Regions from separate parts of the Homo sapiens genome. Here region 2 is linked to region 1. The links are contacts of gene promoters, found by promoter capture Hi-C in blood cells and fetal thymus (Javierre and others, 2016). All regions are on one chromosome and are shown on one strand. Each heading gives the region's core, a stretch centred on a gene start or on the middle of the fragment in contact. The rest is flanking DNA. Distances are from core to core; before and after follow the strand shown.

Region 1 (3,198 bases), core at 646-3,145:
TCAATTTCTCTTTGAAAAATAAGGCCAGTGCTGGCCTTTTTGGGATACCTGGGGACAGAAGCATTAGAAGGGCCACCATCCTTTAAATACTTTCTTTTTCCTTTTTCTTTTTTTTATTTTGACGTAAGGTCTCACTCTGTCATCCAGGCTGGGGTGCAGTGGTACAATCATGACTCACTGCAACCTCCACCCCCTGGGCTCAAGCAATCCTCCCAACTCAGCCTCCTGAGGAGCTTAGGACCATAGGTGTGCACCACCACACCTGGCTGTCTTTTGTATTTTTAGTAGAGATGGGTTTTTGCCATGTTGCCCAGGCTGGTCTTGAACTCCTGAGCTCAGGCAATCCGGCCACATGGGCTTCCCCAAAAAATTGCTGGGATTACAGGTGTGAGCCACCATGCCTGGCCACTTAAATACTTTTAAATAACGCTAGACTAGAAAAGGCATCTTCGTGTTCTAACATCTTACAGGTTCTCAAACTGAGGGTTGCCATGCCTGGAATCCTATGTTCCTTCGCTCTGAACTTTTTCTCTGTGTAATCTTTTTTAAAAATGCAAATCCTTGATAATGTCATTTCATTGAGCCAGAGGCCCCTTGAAGAGATCGGTGGTCAACTCCTAGTTTCAGATCAGGTAGGAGCGGACATTACACAGAAGCAACTGAGGTACTGAGAGGCTTCCTGAAGACAACACAGTAGCTCAGCATGAATGAGTGGGTCTGGTTTTCCCCGCTGAGGCTGGAGGCAGCCAGCAGGTCTGGGGGCTGGGGCTGGGGTTGGAGCACAGCAGGCTGAAATCAAGGCCAAGGGCTCTGATACTGGGGCAAGGAACAGCTCAGGACTCTGGGATAATAGGCAGTGAGGTGCAAAGCGCAGACCCCCAGACAAGCGGTGTGCCCCTGGATTCTGTGCCCGGGAGCTCTGGTTGTGGCACATCTGGCTTAACTCTGCACGCTCTGCAGATCCTCCCCCCACCACCCCAAGCACCTGGTGCAAAGAAGGGCTCAGTGGCCCTCAGCCAGTGGTTGGATGAATGAGCAGTGGACAGTGAAGCATGTGAGACACCACCCACCCACCTCTCCCCTCCCCTCCCTCCTCAGGGCTCTGCTGTGGCCAAGTGCACTTACCCCACACTCTGAGCTGCCCTGAGTCAGGCAAAGGCTCTTCCTGGCGAGTGTATGTTATGCTTTCTGTCTGTGGCACGTCCAGGAGCTGAGCTACACCGGAAAGAGGAGGGCGGATGAGAGGCGCCCCTCAGTGCAGTTGCTTCTCAGCCTCCATCAAAGGCCGCCGGCCCTAGCCCTTTAACCCTTTCCTGTTTGTCACCTTCCCCCACAGGGCTGGGCTGGGGGTTTCCAGCTCTATTCCCAAACTGTTCAGGGAGCCTTTCCCAGCGTCTCCTACTCCTGAGACTCCGGCCAGGGAGAAAGACCCCGGGAAAGGTGAGGGCAGGCGCTGGGTGCTGATCGCTGGCTTTGGGTGTTGGTAAGCAGAGCCCAGGGAGGGCTTGTGGTTGGCCCGTGGTGGCTCACCTCCATGCCACACACAACGCTCTATGTGAGAGCACCGCTGCCAACAAGCCCACACCCCTGCACCCGGCTGAGCTGCCCTGCAGCTGCCCCTTGTCTGGCCCCTCATTCCACCCCCACCCCCCTCCGCACGCTGCACACTCACCCCATCTCCACTGCAGGGGATGCAGGCTTGTGGGACTGGGTGACACCCCCAGAGCTTTCAGGGCTCACTGTCATTCATGAGCAGTGTTCTTAGCCTCCTGGTAGCCAAGGGCCCCTAGGACCCACAGGCAGGGCCAGTTGCAATGTCTGTGCCACCCCAGGAGCTGGGACTAGTGGGTTTCTTCCCTGCCTCCTTGTGGCGGTGGGACACCAAGCTCAGCACTGAGTCCTGGCTCTCAGCTCTCTCGCACTTCCTGATTTCCGTCTCTCGCTCTCTCTTTCTCTCTTAAAGAGACAGAGGCAACTCGGTGCAGCCACCAGCTCAGCAGAAAAGAGAAAGAGGATGCTCTGAGTTCCCAAGGGTAGGCAATAGGACCAGAGTGTGAGCCACAGAGAAGCCAGGAACTGGGGCCCTTCTGGTAATCTTGATGGGCAGCTGGGTGCTGTTTTGGCATCTCCCACAGTTCACTGGAGCAGGGAAGTTCAGGGCTCTTCCCAGAGTCAACAGAGCAGGTTGGGCAAGTTAACTAAGTGGAAAGCTGCCTGGGAAGTCCATGCTCCCACACCCAGGAACCCCAAGGAAGTGTGGGAGCTATGCCGATCCAGTCCTAGAAGTTGGATCTGAGTCACCTTCCCAGGAGGCCTGCAGAGGTCCGAGAGCAAGCGCGGGGACCCAGCTGATGCCTTCCAGTGTGACCTGAGCACACAGCATGCAGCCCCTCCCAGCCAGCTCACTCACCCGCAGAGTAACAGCTACTCTGTGGGTTGATTGGATGACATGGATATATTTGGAATTGTTTGGGAGCTTGGAAAGCATTTTACAGAAAGGCATTGAAGGCATGGAGGCCCACACACTTCAGTAATTTACCCATGCTCTTCAGAGACTGCTGGGGCTGGCACCCAGGTGCCAACTTCCCAGCCAGGACTCGATGCCCCACATCAAATGTCCTAGGAGGCTGGAGGGGTCTGTCCTGCTCTGGTCAGCTCAGAGATGGCAGTTGGATATGAAATGGTTAAAACCAGGAAATTCCATGTTTCTATAGAATGTTGGAGGGACTTTCCCATGGCCACACCTGGTGGTTTCCTCCGCCAGCCCCACCCCTCCCACAGTGACACTAGAACAGGAGCAGAGCTGAGAACTGCCTAGTGCTCAGATAAAGAGAACTCCCCATAACACCTCCAGCTGGAGGAGTTGCTGCAACTTCTCACATCAGGACCAGGAGGAATGTGCCTGAGTGCCTGAGATCCTCATGTTCCACCCAGTCTTCCCAGCTTGCTTTTTTTTTTTGAGATGGAGTCTCACTCTGTCACCCAGGCTGGAGTGCAGTGGCATGATGTTAGCTCACTGCAACCTCCACCTCCTGGGTTCAAGTGATTCTTCTGCCTCAGCCTCCCAAGTATCTGGGACTACAGGCATGCACCACCATGCCCGGCTAACTTTTTGTATTTTTAGTAGAGATGGGGTTTCACTGTGTGGTTGGTGAGGTGGATTGAACAGGTTGGACTTGATCTCCCAACCTCCTGATC
Region 2 (3,162 bases), core at 280-2,779, 510 kb before region 1:
TTTTTAAAAATAATTTGGTTTTTCTTCAATTGTTTAATCCATCTGGAATTTTTTTAGCAACTAATCAGAGCAATTTATTTTCTAAATTGCTAGCTAAGACTATTTTTCCTTTAATACTATCTGATGACATTTATCAAATACGCAATTCTCACTGTAAAATAATAATATGTTTTCAGATATTAACCTGGTAAATCCTAGGCTCTGATTAACCTGTGACCCCCAAATGTTGAACTGATGGCATCCAGAGCTTCATGGGGAGGGGAGAACCATCAAATATAGGGGAGCTCCTATTTCATTTTCTAGGCTATCTTGAGAATGTTGAAAAAAAAAGTGAGAGGATTTTCAGCTAGCTAGAGAACTAATCATAGAACAGATTATTGACCATTGATCAGAGAAGAACATGAAATATGATGTTAGTGAAGCCCTCACCATTGAGGAAGGAAGAAGTTCCTTCTAATGCTGGGATTAGGATCTGGGTGGGTGAGGGGGAAAAAAGGGGCAAAGGGTGACCTGAAATGTTCTGGCTCCCTTTCTCACCCCAGGATGGAACATTAACAAGAGGTGTTATAGGGCAGGAGGGTGCATCTTGGATAAAACCACCCCCAAGATAAATTTGGGACAGTCTAAGAACTTCAGGAGCTGCTGTCCTTCACAGACTGGGCAGAGCTTGGGGAAACCATAGACTTTGTGGAGAAACCCTCCACTGCAGGGGATGCTGCATCCAACATGATCCAAGAAAGGGGAACTAGCAATTACAGGCACATGCTGAGGGCAGACTTCAAGGGTCCACACACAACAGCATATTGGAGAGAAAGCAATCTAGAGTTTTCCGGCACCCCACTGAGATGCATGACAGCTGAGAGAGCAGAAAAGACCCAAGTTCCTAAGGAAGCTCAGAGTATGGAGCTCTTGTCACCAGAGGCAATGGCAAGGACCCGCGTGTATGCATAGTGGGGGGCAGATGCCACTATGATGCCCATGGACCAGATCAAACCAGTGGCATCTTCATCACCAAGAAGAATGAGGGGCATTTCAGAATGAGGGTAGGGAGAATCAAGGACATCTGAGCAATACCACTGCACCCAGACACCATCTTGAGAAGGGGTAGGAGAGATCCCTTCAAGCTGTCTAGAGTCTGAGCTTTGAATTAGCTGCTTTACCTAAAACAGATCTGAGCAATGGAGATTAACTTTCTATTAATTGGTACATTTAAAATATCTTGGCAATATCACCTCATCCCTGCTACCAACAGAAATTAGCACCCACACTAAACAATTATAAGACAAAAATTTTACTTTTATTTTTCCATATCTGAGTAATATGTCAATTTTGAAAGCACCAAACACACACACACACACAAAGAGAGAGAGAGAGTTAGGCCTTTTCTGGGCTTTTTGTTCCTTTATTGATTTAAAATGCATCCTTAAAGTCAGAACAAAGCTTTACATGTGTTTGGGGTACGTTGTGTTCAAAAGCAATGTAGAAAAAGACTTTTTTCTCTTAGTAGGCATAGTTGGAAATTCATTCTTCTTTGTGCCAGAGGAATTCAGAACTCTTTCACGTATTGTTAACCTCGCATGAGGTGTGATGGCCACCATAGGTGACACAGGAAGCTTCATGCTGAGAGTAAATGTAGAAAAGTAGAACATTTTGGAAAACTCAAATTTATTCTTGGGAAAATCCTTGCAAATCCTGTTGTTCCCTTGCATTCCCCAGGGGTGACCATATGTTTCCCTGGGACAATCCCGATTTACACCTGCTGCCCCAGAACAATTATTAGAAGTGCCCCTTCATAGTGTCCTGATCTGAGGTCCCTGGTCACTCTAGCCATGGAGTCTTTCTGGCACAAGGTGGCAGCAGCTGCCCATAGTTGAAAACGTATTGTAGCTTTTGGGCCCTTCCAGTATCTGAGACAGAGAAAAGGGTCCATTCATTAACCCAGGACAGGCTTCCAAATACAGCACCAAACTATGGAATGAGAGTACCTTAGAATGCAAGGACTTAGAATACAGGATCATCTGGCCACCCCCTGCCATGAGGCAGGCCACGCAACCCTTTTGGCAGCTGTGGGGAAAGCCATTCTCTGGATGGGTATTCTCTCAGCTGGTGAAGTTAGGCTTTTGTTCACAAATTTCAAGCAGCTCCTGGAGAGAAGGGAAGGGTCCGCTCCCTGCAGTTTCTGAGATCCTCACCTGCAAAGACCCTCATCCTTGCGCTGAATGTGCAGGCTGCATGGATATGTTCACCTGGCCCATCAAGAAGGTGCTTGTTTTCCGAAAGATTCTTCAATTGTCAGCTCTTCTCTCTATTTTTTTTTTCTTGTTATGGGTTGAAATGTGCCAAAAAAGATATGATGAAGTCCTAACCCCTAGTCCCTCAGAATGACCTTATTTGGAAATAGGATCATTGAAGATGTAATTAAGATAAGGTGACATGGAGTACGGCAGGCCCTTAATCCCATATGATATCCTTATAAGAAAAGGAGAAGACAGAGACACACGGGGAAGATGGCCATGTGAAGCCAGAGGCAGAGACTGGAGTGATGTTGCCATAAGCCAAGGAATGCCTGGAGATACCAGATGGTGGAAGAGGCAAGGATGGATCCTCCCCTAGATGCTTCAGAGGAACCATGGCCTTGCCAGTACCTTGATTTCAGACTTCTAGCTCCAGAGCTGTGAGAATAGATTTCTGCTGTTTTAAGCCACCCAGTTTATAGTGCTTAGTTATGACAGCCCTAGGAAACCAATGTGCTTCCCTCTCACACTTTCCGAACCCCATGCATTACTTATCTATTGCTGCACACCAAGATTACCATAGAGTCAGCAGCCTAGGACAACACACATTTCTCTCCTGCTTTCTTTTGGTCAACAGTCCTGGCACAGCTTTGGGTCCTCTGCAAGCCTTCAGTCAAGTTGTCAGCCAGGTCTGGGTTTGCATCTGAGAGCTCAACTGGGGAAAAATCCACTTCCAAGTTCACGTGATGATTGGTAGGATTCAGGTCCTAGTGGGTGACCAGACTGAAAGCCTCAGTTTCTTGCTGCCTGTGGGCCAAAGGCTGCCCTCCATTCCTTGCCACATGACTCTCTCCACTGAGCAGCTCACAACATGACAGCCAGCTTCAACGAAGCCAGCAAGGGACAGAATCTCCTTGCAAGAGATGGG

Evidence for each region. Contacts are between HindIII fragments. The CHiCAGO score rates a contact against its expected background, and 5 or more counts as called.
Region 2: a contact is called between a fragment that was not itself captured here and the fragment with the promoter of IKBKE in region 1, in 8 of 17 cell types (activated CD4 T cells, naive B cells, total B cells and 5 more). The highest score is 11.8, in activated CD4 T cells.

The regions. Positions count from the first base shown.
Region 1 is chr1:206,469,173-206,472,370 of GRCh38, reverse strand. It overlaps IKBKE (inhibitor of nuclear factor kappa B kinase subunit epsilon), which reads right to left and starts at 1,895. Exons shown (of 22, transcript NM_014002.4): 1 at 1,673-1,895; 2 at 1,126-1,215. RefSeq lists enhancers at 2,519-2,828, 2,348-2,985. The HindIII fragment of the contact is 16,341 bases long and covers 1-3,198 here.
Region 2 is chr1:206,980,995-206,984,156 of GRCh38, reverse strand. No RefSeq gene overlaps it. Among named protein-coding and RNA genes, the nearest start is that of FCAMR, 12 kb to the right of the region's middle. The HindIII fragment of the contact is 173 bases long and covers 1,443-1,615 here.